Regions from separate parts of the Homo sapiens genome. Here regions 1 and 2 are each linked to region 3. Evidence: promoter capture Hi-C in 16 types of primary human blood cells and fetal thymus (Javierre and others, 2016). All regions are on one chromosome and are shown on one strand. The core of a region is centred on a gene start or on the middle of the fragment in contact, and the rest is flanking DNA. Distances in the headings are between cores, read along the strand shown.

The links. The method cuts DNA at HindIII sites, captures the fragments that hold promoters and counts their contacts. A CHiCAGO score of 5 or more calls a contact.
Region 1: a fragment that was not itself captured here is called in contact with the fragment with the promoter of EHD3 in region 3 in 1 of 17 cell types (monocytes); the score reaches 5.0 in monocytes.
Region 2: a contact is called between the fragment with the promoter of LCLAT1 here and the fragment with the promoter of EHD3 in region 3, in 6 of 17 cell types (monocytes, fetal thymus, erythroblasts and 3 more). The highest score is 6.7, in monocytes.

What each region holds. Positions count from the first base shown.
Region 1 is chr2:30,706,908-30,711,324 of GRCh38, forward strand. No RefSeq gene overlaps it. Among named protein-coding and RNA genes, the nearest start is that of CAPN13, 98 kb to the right of the region's middle. The HindIII fragment of the contact is 8,206 bases long and covers 1-4,417 here.
Region 2 is chr2:30,445,394-30,449,627 of GRCh38, forward strand. It overlaps LCLAT1 (lysocardiolipin acyltransferase 1), which reads left to right and starts at 1,853. Exons shown (of 6, transcript NM_001002257.3): 1 at 1,853-1,990. RefSeq lists enhancers at 1,543-2,280, 1,584-1,653, 1,694-1,753, 1,964-2,083, 2,281-3,017. The HindIII fragment of the contact is 6,952 bases long and covers 1-4,234 here.
Region 3 is chr2:31,231,092-31,235,408 of GRCh38, forward strand. EHD3 (EH domain containing 3) reads left to right here and starts at 3,061. Exons shown (of 6, transcript NM_014600.3): 1 at 3,061-3,757. The coding sequence starts at 3,531. It also overlaps a transcript of CAPN14 not described here. The HindIII fragment of the contact is 24,555 bases long and covers 103-4,317 here.

The sequences.
Region 1 (4,417 bases), core at 382-2,881, 530 kb before region 3:
GCCCCAGCCGGCAGGTAGTGGAGACTGGCTTTGATTCCTGGCTCCACTCCCACTAGTGGCTCCTCCCACCCGAGCCCACCTTTCATCCATATACGATGTGGATAACTGTTTCCTGCAGAAGGTCCTAAGGATGAAAATAAGGTGTTTAAGTGCTCCTCACTTGGCTATCATGGTGACAGCTCAGGTTAGTGTCACCCAAGGAGTGTCACCCAAGGGTCCTGCCCGCTCACAGTTTTGAAGTGACAGCCTGAGGAGGAGGGCTGTGGCTCCATGGCCCCATGCTGCCACCTGGAGGTCACAGGGAAGGGAATACAATGATAGAGATGGTGATGAAAATGAGCAACATGATGATGATGATAGTAGCCAATAGAGGCAAGTTCTTACCTAGGCACGACCTAACGCTTTATACGGTTTATCTCATCCAAGGACGAGATTCCAACTATCTTGTTAAATAAAGTGGCTCAGCTATTTATGTGGCCAGAGACATGACCTGTGTCATTCTATATAATACTTACAACGACCCTGTCAGAGAGAGATTTATTCTCTCTGCTAAATAGATACAGGGCAACAAGGTTCAGAGACGGTAAGTTACTTCCCAAGGTCACACAGCAAGTCAATGGCAGAGCTAAGATTGAAATTATATCTGTTTGAAGCCAAAACTCATACATGTCCCTCCACATCCTGTGCCTCCCCCAGAGATCTGGTTCCTCAACAGGCTCTGGGCCAGGGGACGGGTCTGGCAGGGAGAACAGGTGTGGCTGTGGAGGGAAGTTCAAGGGAACTCAAGAGCTGTGGTCCAGGAAGTATCCATGTTTGTCCCGGCTTCATGCTACCCTCCTTTTGCAAGGAGGCAGGTGATTGACCAGTATCAGCCAGATCCTGAGGGCAAGATCACAGCCTTGCAGACTTCAAAGCTATCCAGGCACTTTCCAAGCAAACATTCATGTTCACAAAGTCTATAGAAATGTAGATTCGCAGGCAGAACTCAGGAGGAAAAGTGCCATCTCCCATGATTAAGAAAACATTTCCATTTTTATCTGTATATTTCGTGTCTGCATGTTTTATATTTCTCCAATGCATTTAAAATATATTATTTTAGCCATGCACGGTGGCTCACGCCTGTAATCCCAGCACTTTGGGAGGCTGAGGCGGGCGGATCACAAGGTCAGGAGATCGAGACCATCGTGGCTAACACGGTGAAACCGCATCTCTACTAAAAATACAAAAAATTAGCTGGGCATGGTAGCGGGCGCCTGTAATCCCAGTTACTCAGGAGGCTGAGGCAGGAGAATGGCGTGAACTCGGGAGGCGGAGCTTGCAATGAGCCGAGATCATGCTAGTGCACTCCAGCCTGGGCGACAGAGTGAGACACCGTCTCAAAAAACAAAAACAAAAACAAAAACAAAAAAAATCATATCACATTGAAAGGACCCTCAGGGATTATCTGGCTCAAGGATAGCACTCAGTGACATATTCAGTGAAGGAAGAGAGAAAAGCTGGCCTGGGGAAACAGAGGCACAGAGAAGGGAGAGATGTTCTCAAAGTCACACAGCCACAGAATGGGGCCTGAAATGCAGGTCTGCAGACACCAGCCTGTTCTCTTCCTGCTCGGCTGAATGGCACCCATAATGGCTGCAGGGTCCACCCAGTGGGAGGAGAGGCCAGTGTGCCTGGTGAGATCATTGTGGAGCAGATGAGGACTTGAGAGCCGGGGCATAGCCCAGCCAGATTTGTGCTTTTGCCAAATAGCCAAGTCCTCTCCCATTTCTTCTGTTGGCTCTGAGAAGATCTGTCGGCTCTGAGAAGATCTGTCTGCTAGAGAGGGAGGGAGGGGCTGATCCTAGGCCTGGGCCTGTTATTCTTTCTTGAGTCATCTTTGCTGCCCTATCTCCTGAGTACTAGCAAGATCATCTGGTCCTCAGTTCTTTCACCTATCCCCACCCCGGAGGAGATGAGATGTGCTAGAAGTGAGCATCTGTCACTGCCCTCAGCCTCCTCCTGGGTTTCAGGAGGGTGATAGCCCCTCATTCAGCTACCATGGACCACACTGTGCACCAAAGACCGCGCTGGGTGCATTGACATTATCTTATTCAATTCTCACAGCAACCTCAAGAGGCAGTATTCCCAACTCCCTGCCTTTTAGATACACTTGATTTTTTCAAAACGGTTTTAGGTTCACAGCAAGGCTGAGCAGAAAGTACAGAGAGTTCCTGTATACCCTCTGCCCCCACATATGCACAGCCTCCCCGTGGCCAGCATCCCACACCAGAGTGGCACATGTGATAAAATCAGTGAGTCTATGTCTATACAGCATGATCACTCACAGTCCGAAGGTTTTTCTTCACTCTTGGTGACGTACAATCTGTGGGTTTGGACAAGTGGTAGTATTTTAAAATGCCCACTTGACAGAGGAGAGCAGCTAGGCCCCGAGGTTAGGGTCAGGGTTGAACAGCTGGGAGGTAGGTGGCAGGGATGGAGCCTTGATGGGTGGAGGAAAGGCTTCATGCTAACAAGCTCTCTCGGCCCCAGGACCCCATGGAAATGTCAATATTGTACCTGGTTTCCCAAATGAAAATCAAATAGGGCACATGGGTCTGCTTAATGGGTGATGAAGTTCCAGTGGCTCCAACAGAGGTAAAATTGATTCATATTTGTCAGGCTGGGAAACGGGAGAACTAGGCTCCAGGACCTCCTGGCCTCTTGCCTGGCAGCTCCTTTAGGCATATTTTTGGACAGGCCACACAGCTTCCTACTGAGGGCTCGCGAGGCAACAGGCGCAAGCTGGCCCCTGGAGATCAACCTGGGCAAGGCAGAGCTGCTGCTTTTGAGGTGCTCATAGCCTCGTGGAGTCACAGACGCATATGAGCTCGTTTTGGCCTGGAGTCAGCCCATGCTCACCGAGTTTTCTGCTTATTGCACTGGATGGACAGCATGGCATGGAAGAGTTTATAGGACTGAACAGGCTGGCACTTGAGACATTTCTGAGTTTTCCCCTTTTCTAGATGTGAGTTTACAGCTGGCCATTCCTACAGTGACTCATGAAAGCTGATGAGATATTTTGATATTGACGAGGTGACACAATTATTATTGAGATGGATCACTGTACCTTACAAAGGCACCATCCAGGTTTCCTGTCAATCTCTCTCACTCTCATCTCTAGACTCCTAGGCCCTCCTGGCAGGCAGTGCTGAAGCAGCCCTTCCCAGCCCAGGACAGCAGATGCTTAGCCCCTCTCGGGACTGGCCGGCTCTCCCTTGAGCAGGCACGCCTGGGCCAGGAGCTGTCTTCCTCTCCCAGAGCTGTGTGGGCCAATGGAAAGAGCATGGCTTTGGAGTACAACCAACCCGCACTCTGCTCCTTGTGTCTTCATGGCCTGGGGCAAGACCCTCCATTTCCTCATCTGAGCATTCTGGTATTAATCCTTGTAAGGGAGTTTAAGGGCTGGAGACAATGGAGCCTAATTCCTGTACATGACAGGTGCTCAAAAGCTGGTGGCTCCCATTCTGAGCTAAGTGAAGTTACCTGTGGCATGCTCTCACTCTGAAATACCTCCTGTCCAAAAATATGTCTACAGGGGCTGCCAGGCAAGAGGCCAAGGGGTCCTGGAGCCTAGTTCTCTCATCTCCCGGCCTGACAAATATGAATCAATTTCACCTCTGTTAGAGCCATTGCAACTTTATCACCCATAAAGCAGATCCGTGTGCCGTATTTGATTTTCATTTGGAAAATCAGGTACAATATTGACCTTCCCATGGGGCGCTGGGGCCAAGAGAGCTTGTTAGCATGACGCCCCTCCTCCACCCATCAAAGCCTCGGCAGCTCCTCACTTTCCACTCCTAGCCCAGTGGAGATTGGTGCTCTTCTCTTGCAGTATACTAGAGTCCTCTGGGGAGTTTATTAAATGCAGATTCTAAGTCCCCCTAAATTTACTAAATTGGACTCTGCAGAGGTAGGCCCAGGAAAGCATTTTCACCAACTTTCCCAGTGATTCTGGCTTGAGAATCATGCCCTTAGGACACCTACGGGGCACCTGCCTCACCGCCTCTCCAAGGCAAAGTCCAGGAACCAATGCTGGGAAGGCTTATGTGATTTAATAGAGAAGAAGAGGCTGGGAGAGGGAGAACAAAATTGTACTGTCCTTAACCCTTTACAGTGACAGGTACTGCTAGCTTGATGTAGAAACACATACTCTTTACTTTTTTTTTTTTTTCTGAGACAGAGTCTCACTCTGTTGCCCAGGCTGGAGTGCAGTGGTGTGATCTCTGTTCACTGCAGCCTCCGCCTCCTGGATTCAAGTGATTCTCATGCCTCAGCCTCCCGAGTAGCTGGGATTACAGGTGCCCGCCACCAGGCCCAGCTAACTTTTGTATTTTTAGTAGAGACAGGGTTTCATCATGTTGGCCAGGCTGGTCTTGAA
Region 2 (4,234 bases), core at 603-3,102, 790 kb before region 3:
CCAATGATCTTGGGCACGTCAAGACATTTTCCCCAGAATGAAAAACATGTTACTACACCTTGCACCTCTGCCAAAAAGAAAGAAGCATGACACTTAGCAGATCTCTGAGTTTAGAAATCAGCATATTTTGCCCTTGGGAATTCTGTTCCTATCCCTTTAGCAGTTGACGTGGAAGGTGGCTACTGATCAGTAGCTCAGATCAAGAACGGGCTCAGGGCCAGGCGCGGTGGCTCAAGCCTCTAATCCCAGCACTTTGAGAGGCCAAGGTGGGTGGATAGCTTGAGCTCAGGAGTTCGAGACCAGCCTGGCAACATGTTGAAATCCTGTCTCTACAAAAAACACAAAATTAGCTGGGCATGGTGGCAGATGCCTGTAGTTCCAGTTAGTCTGGAGGCTGAGGTGGGAGGATTGCTTGAGTCCAGGAGGCAGGGGTTGTAGTGGGCCACAATCATGCCACTGCACTCCAGCCTAGGTGACAGAGCGAGACCCTGTCTCAAAAAAAAAAAAAAAAAAAAAAAAAGCAAAGAAAAGAAAAAAGAAAGAGCCCAGCACTGTCCTCTGTGGTTAGGGCGGTAAGGGCAACCTTGCCTCTTGGGCTGTATCACCGGACACACCTCACAATGCTAGAGCTCTCTGCAATGGAGCTGCAAAGGCTATGAGGAACCTCCGGCAAGCCCCCAAAGAACCACAGTAGAGCCCTTGAAGGTTCTGGAGCATAGCCAGGCCAACTCTTAACAACAACAAAAAAGAATTGGGAGATCTTTTATTCCAGTAATCTTATTTTAAAGGTAAAAAGGAGGCCTAAAGTCATAGGCATAATTGGCAGAATTGACTTTTGTTCTGGTGTTTCTCTCTGTAGTCATTCTTCACTTTCTGATGCAATTTTAGCACATCTTAAATATTAAAATGTTTTGGAACAAACTTAGAGAAATTATGAAGCTAATTTAGGAAAAGAGCACAAGAATCTTTGATTTACAGGCAATTTGGGGATATAATTTAGCTATATTGAAGCTATGCAGCCAACATGTAGATGGTCATTATTATTACACCATAAATTTTGTGAGGTCAGGAACCTTGTAATTTTAAAAATATTCACTCTGTGCTTTGTTGAATAAACGGATAAAACGTATAGACATACATGAACTACTGATGAGTGGCTGTGTGTGATGTGTAGCTATGTTTATTATTTTTAAGATTCTTATTGTATTTGTTGAAGGCCAAGTTGAGGAGGGAATTGCTTAAGGGAAATGAAAAGGGGTTTAACCACAGTCCCCACCATTCAGGGGCATGCAATCTAGTAGGTTAGGGGACAGGACAGACACACCATGATAGGTGATCGAGACCTTTTAAGAGCAGTGTGATGAAATTGCTATGGGAACTGGGAGGAAACATTTTCTAGGACTGGGGAAACACTGAGTGTGCTAGAAAAACTTTGTGCTCCTGATCAGGGAACCTGGGTTCTATAACTGCTTCTACTACTGATTTGTCCTGTGACTTCGCGCACCAAATTTAGGCTTGTAAATTAAACTCCCAGATTTCTGTTTTCCATTTTGCAGCTCTAGGGGTTGAATGAACCATTAGGTTCCCTCGGACAAATGACCTCCGCTAATTTCCTATTTCGTTGTTTTCTCACCCCTACACCCCACCGTTCCGTGGGTCCCTCCTCTCCAGGAGGCCAGACGAGGAAATAAGCGAGGCCTCTTTAAAGGAGCTCTCAAAGAAAGGTACCCGGGGTATCCCGGGCTGTGGAGCAAGCGCGGGGCGCCGGGGACCCGGGTTTCCCACGCAGCCGGGGACGCCGTTGCGTCACGGCGCCTGCAGCCAATCAGGACGTAGCCTTCCGGGACGCATTACTAGGGCGACGGCCGGACGCCTCCGCGTTACGGGATGAATTAACGGCGGGTTCCGCACGGAGGTTGTGACCCCTACGGAGCCCCAGCTTGCCCACGCACCCCACTCGGCGTCGCGCGGCGTGCCCTGCTTGTCACAGGTGGGAGGCTGGAACTATCAGGTGGGGTTACGGCGCGAGGAAAATGGCGGCGGCCGGGGGATCTCAGAGGTGCAGGAAGGGGAGCTGCAGCCCGGGCTTTTCCTCCTGAGCCATGGACCTTCCCCGGGCCGCGACCTCGGGTAACGGCCACTGGCCTGGCATTTGGGGTCCCGGTGCAGGTGGCGGTAGCGTCGCTGGCTCAGGTGGAAGGAGGCGCGGGGAAGCGACTCCTGGAGGCTGGCTGAGGCGTCAGGTGCTGAGGGGCCGCGCGAGCGGCGAGGGCGAGGTAGCCGCGGGGCGAAGAGGGTCCCGTCGGTGTTTACGCTAGGAGCGTCAAAACCTTCCTCCTGCGACCTCAGCGGGTCTGGGAGCTGCACTGTCCCGGAACGCAACCTGAGGTCTGACCCTGTTAAATCCCATGCACTAAAACGTCTCAAGTGGTCACCACGTGCGGGGCTTCGACGAGAGCCGTGGAGAGCAGGGGCTGGGGTTGTCTTCCCTGCGAGTCCTGCAGGCGCCAAAGGCCTGCCTGTAGGTGCCAGAGTGGCAGTGCCGCGAAAAGAAAGGTAGGCCCTAGCCAGGGCGGATGCCAAACCTGATCTTTAAGGTGTATCGTAGCTTCTAATTGCCCATTTGAAGAAAAGAAGTTGAAAGATAAGGCACTTAGATGTGGTTGTGGAGATGTTTTGCTTTCTTGTACTTCCCTGGTTCAGGTGGCTTCCCTGGAAATACTGCATCTGCCTTTAAAGTTCATTAACTGTGTTTCTTGTGTACATGGCAGTAGATGAGATTAGGGATTGAAGTCACTTTAAGTCCAAGAAAAGTATTGAAGATATGTGTTGAAGGCATTACCAAGATGAAATATTTATTCATATCATTAACTTATTTGTTCAAAGAAACGTCATCTCATGAAGTATAACTACGTGGGTTAGTTTTCAAAAAACTGACTTGATGAAAGCCCTTTTTGTAAAACATATTTTTTGAGAGTAAGTAAAAATACATCATCACTTTTTCGTTTAGGTTTCTGTTGCACATTGTACTTTGATATGCTTGATATGACAGATAAGCATAATGTTAACTGACTTTTGTTTTTGGTAGTAGGCTTGATTTTATGGAGTAGTACCTTGTTCTGTAACTGAGAAAAACGTAATAGCGCTTGTGTTTCAGTCATCAATAGCTGCAATCTCTGGAGTGCCAACTATGTGTCAGTTTCTGTGAAAGCTAGGCTTCTCCTACTTTTTAATTTGAACACATGGTCGTCTGCATCTGCCCCCACCAGGTCTTTAGGCTGGCTGTTGCTGACAACCAGGAGGAAGCAATGGGGAAAACCCAAAAGATTCTTCCAAACTGGATCCATGGAGATTTGGTCAGTTTGTCCTGGGGTTGAGGTTATGGGTGGATTCTAGTCCAAACTCTGCCACTTAAAAATATCTTAGGGTAATCATACAACTTCACTATTGGTGTCTTATCTCTAAAGTGAGTATTTCTTATTCAAACAATCTCATTGCACTGTTGGGAGGAAAAAGAAAAGACAGTATGTGTGAAAGGGCTTTAAAAAGTTAAAAAAACAGTGAAAATATTTGAAATTTATTCCTCTGCATTCATGTACTCTGCCAGGCACTGAATCCGGGGACTTATATGTGCCAACTCAGTCATCTAGCATCACTGTGAGGCGGATACATTTATTATCTTTATTTTGCAGATGAGGAAACTGAAGCACATTGAAGTTTAAGTAATTTGTCCATATCACACAATTAGCATTGTGTTTCCAGCCTGTGTTCTTACTGTCTTACTACCACCATGCCTACTATCTTCCTATGACATACAGATGTGTTATGTATTAAGGGGAAACATTAATTCATGTACAAATTTTTCATTTTTAATATATATATTTTTCTTTTTCAAAGGCTCTAGCAATGTCCTAGAATGAACACATATTTCAAGCCAGTAGTTTTGTTTGTGATCTTGTGTAAATAATAATCATGGTTTATTCCATTGGCGTCCAATAGTGATTTGTGTGGTAACAATTACATTTACTTTGGTTAAGTGGTATATTCTTCTTACTTGTGTTGCCCATTAATTAAAAAGTTATTTTGAAACAGAGTTATGACTAATTTCTTTTTTTTTTTTTTTTGAGAGGGAGGTTCGCTCTTGTTGCCAGGGCTGGAGTGCAATGGCACGATCTCGGCTCACCACAGCCTCTGCCTCCCGGGTTCAAGCGATTCTCCTGCCTCAGCCTCCTGA
Region 3 (4,317 bases), core at 1,811-4,310:
TCTTCTCTTCTCTGTTCTCCTTTTTCTGCCCTCCTTCCCCTTCCACCTCTCCCTCTCCTCCTCCTTATTCTTCTTATCTTCTTTCTTCTCCTGGAATATCTAAGCTTTTTTTTACTATTGCTCTATAAGTTATACATTTTAGAATCACCTTGTCAATTTCCATGGAAAACCTTATTTAGATTTTGATTTCAATCATATCTCTCAATTATTGAATTTATCAATCATGTTGTAAAGAATTCACATGTTTGTGACAAGGAATCCTTCCACAATGGAACATGGCATGTCTCTCCCATTTACTTAGAACTTCTTTAACATCTTTCTATAAAGTTTTATTATTTTTCACATAAAGATCTTGCATATCTTTTGTCAGATTTATCCGTAAGTTTTTGTTCTTTTGAACACAGTATCTTTTTTGAATATTATCTTTCATGACCTTTTATTGCTAGTCTATAGAAATGCTCCATTAGTTCCTTTTTTAAACAGATAGATTTCAACTACTCAAGACTGAGACGGGAGTAGATGTGTCAACACGCACTTGGTAAATTAGATATTCGGAACAGACATTCAGCAGTAGACAATGGCATGGCCGTACTGATTACAAAATTCTTGAAATACTTCCATAATGGGGCCCCTTGATTTCTTTCCTGTCACGCTGGCCATACTGACCTCTCTCCGGGGACAGGCTCAGATCTCTCCAAGGTCCAGACGCCACTGTATTAACACCAGGCGTGGCACGGGGCCGCAAGCCTTGCTCCACTAGGAAGGCCAGTGTCTGTTCCGGGTGTTTGATTCTCATGCCTTGTGAGTTGTTAAATATCTTTAATATTACTCCTTAGGTTCGTATGTTGGTAGTAGCTAAACACCAAGGGTGAAATATTAATCTGAGTGAATTCTCAACAAGAGATGATCAGTTTTGGGGTTCAAGGAGGGAGTCGGGAGATCTGAGATGTAACTAAGGAGATTCTATTCAGCACTGGCCTCTGATAATCCCCCCTCCCCTGAAATCCCTGCAGCTTCACCACACTCCTCTTGAAGCTCCTGCAGGCACTTCAAACGCAACACGTTTTAGATTGAACACATTATCTCTGTCTGCTAAATCAGCTCTCTCTCTGCCTCCCCTAATTAGTGGAAGAGCTTCTCCAATGATCTTATCCCCTATGGTAGAAAATTCAAAATCATCCTAGACTGTGCCTCACCCTTATGTCCTCTTTTTTTTATCACATACCAAGATCTGACAATTCTATTCCATGAAAAAAATCTTTTGAGTCTGACCTCTTCTCCAATCCCATTGCAGCTGTCTCCTAAGTTTTGGAATAGTTTCCTAAATGGTCTCTTGGCCTCTGTATTCGTCTGTTTTCACACTGCTGTGAAGAAATACCTAAGACTGGGTAATTTATAAAGGAAAAAGGTTTAATTAACTCACAGTTCTGCATGCCTAGAGAGGCCTCAGGAAACTTACAGTCATGGCATAAAGGGAAGCAAACACGTCCTTCATAAGGCGGCAGGAGAGAGAAGTATGAGGAACCAAGTGGGAAGAGCCCCTTATAAAACCATCAGCTCTCACGAGAACTCACTCACTATCATGAGAACAGCATGAATGAAACTGTCCCTATGATCCAATCTCCTCCCACCAGCTCTCTCCCTAAACGCATGGGGATTATGGGGATTACAATTAGAGATGAGATTTATGCGGGGACACAAAGCAAAACCATATCAACCCCCAACCTCTTTTGCCCCTCCAACACTGCTCTTGGCATTCCAGTTCCTGCCTGGTCCATAGCCTACTCCTTCTTCATCTGTGGAAGGGAGGGTAGTGGGAGTCATTAGCCTGGGCAGGGAGGAGTGTTTTATCACTACACTGTTTAGAATGGTGCCAATACAAAGCACATCAACTTTCAGCAAGTTTATTATTGGGTTTAAATTCTCTACACACGATGCACTGCTTTTGCCTACACCTGGACAGTGTTCCCACTCACTCTCCTTAGTATGATGCTGGAGATAATATGATCTGCCATGAAGGTTAAATAAAGCAATGTTCACTGAGAACTTAGCCCAGGCCCCTGCACATGCTGAGCATTTTGTTAATGTAACAATGATTAGTAATAGCATTGCTATTGGTTCCCCATCTCTGGCAAAGCCTTTCATGCTTGGCCTCCCTCACTCTCTTTCACCTTCCTAAACCCTACACTCCAGCTATGCCAAACTGTTTACTCTGCCTTGGACACACCAAGTTCCTCAAGCCTTTGCAAATACTCCTTACGCTCCTAGAACAATGGATGTCAATTCATCATTTAGGATCCAGCTTACAGTCATGCTTTCCATGAAGCCTTCCTCAAATTAGCCACACAAAAGGAGTGACTCCTCCCTGTATTCCCATGACCCTCTGCTCATGCCTCCTCTTTAAAGCCTGCCTTCACTGGAGTTCCTGGAAGGGAGAGTCTGTTCAGCACTCATCTCTGTATCCACAGTCACCAAAATTGTAACTGCCCCATAATAAATTCCCAATACTTGCAGGGATTTTGCTTCTTGGCTTGTTTTGTTTTGCTGGAATGAATGAATAAGTAAATGGGAACGATTTTGACTTCACCCTAAGCCTAGCTAAAAGTTTGGGTAGTGACAGTTTTGGTTATTTTGTGTAACCTGATAGTGGATCCCCTTTCTATGCCAAAAAAAAAAAAAATCCCCCAATACTAGAGTACCTGTTTTCCTAGGGAATTGACCTCAGCAACTGAAGGAGAGGCGATTCAAAGCAGGGAGTGTGATGAATAGGTCAACTCTGTCCTCGCAGCCGTCCCTGAGAGGGCGCTGTTCCCAAATCGAAGCCCCAGAGGCGGAGACTGAGACACCGGCACTCTCCCACTGGACTGGGTCAGCATCCCTCTCCCCGCGCGGCCGCAGGTCTAGAGCTGAGCGCCTGCCCACAAACATGGCGGCGCCCTGCGCGGCTTCCCGTCGCCGCAACCGTGGGGCCGGCCCTGCCTTGCCAGTACTAGGGGACTTCCTCTGCGCGCCGGCTTCCTGCCCAGCTGGCATTTAAACCACCGCCTGGGGCTGCAGGATGCTGCTGCGGATGCAGAGCTGTCCGCGGGCTGGGCAGCGTCGCCGTCTCCCCTGAGCCGCCTCGGTCCGGCAGGAGCGGAGCCGAAGCATCCCTTGCTGCACGCAGGGCAGAGCAGGCGAGGGCTGGGGGCCGATCGGGGACCCCGGCTTGGGACCCCGGCATCTGGCAGTTTCCTTGCAGGTTCAACTTTAATTGCCAAGATTTCACCCCTCCTCCTCAAGCCCAGATTATTTATCCTCCCTCCGGCCTGGGCTGCTGGATGCAGCAGCGGCTGGGCTTGGTCCCAGGAGCAGGGAGAGTGCGCTCCCGGCCCTCCTAGCCGCGTGCCCGGGCCATGGTGCGGCTGAGCCCCGCGCTTGGGTGAGGCGGCGGCGCGGCTCGGAGCCCGGCGGACCGGTCCTACGGGACATCTTCCCCTGAGGAGGAGTCTTCCCCTGGGGCTGCGTGCCGGGGGCGAGCGGCGGCCGCGATGTTCAGCTGGCTGGGTACGGACGACCGCCGGAGGAAGGACCCCGAGGTTTTCCAGACGGTGAGTGAGGGGCTCAAGAAACTCTACAAGAGCAAGCTGCTGCCCTTGGAAGAGCATTACCGCTTCCACGAGTTCCACTCGCCCGCCCTGGAGGATGCCGACTTCGACAACAAGCCCATGGTTCTGCTGGTGGGCCAGTACTCCACTGGGAAGACCACCTTCATCAGGTGAGCCGGCCCAGGGTCCTGGCAGCCCACCCCGGAGCCCAGCGCCTAGTCCCTCCGGTCACTCCTGGTGCTCCATCCCAGACAGGGGACCAATGGGAAGCCTTCAGTTGAGGGCTCTGAAGAGATCTGTGTTTGTGCAGGCGTCAAAATCTTACCCCACAATTTTTGCTGGTCCCCCTTCCCATCCTACCCAATACCTGTCCACTCTACTTGGCCCTTGGCTGTGGTGGTCAACCTGAAGTATTCAAGTGTAAAGCCATTCCCAGTCTCCCCATCTTATGGATGATGAAACCGAGGCCCAGGAGGCACAATGGAAGAGCTCCTGGTCTCTGGAGCGCCTTATGTTGGTGGGGATGTCTTACGTCTTCACTTTTTAGCAACACATCATTCACGGGCAAAACCTCTTCCCTTGTTTTTCAAGGGGCTTGGCACTCACATGGGGGCCTCACAGTTGCAGCTGAGTTCTGATGGGTGCGGGCCTGGGAACGGAGGTGGCCTGGGGATGCTACTTGTCCTCCTTTTATCATTTCCTTCTCTAAAGCAGAGCTCCTGTGTATATA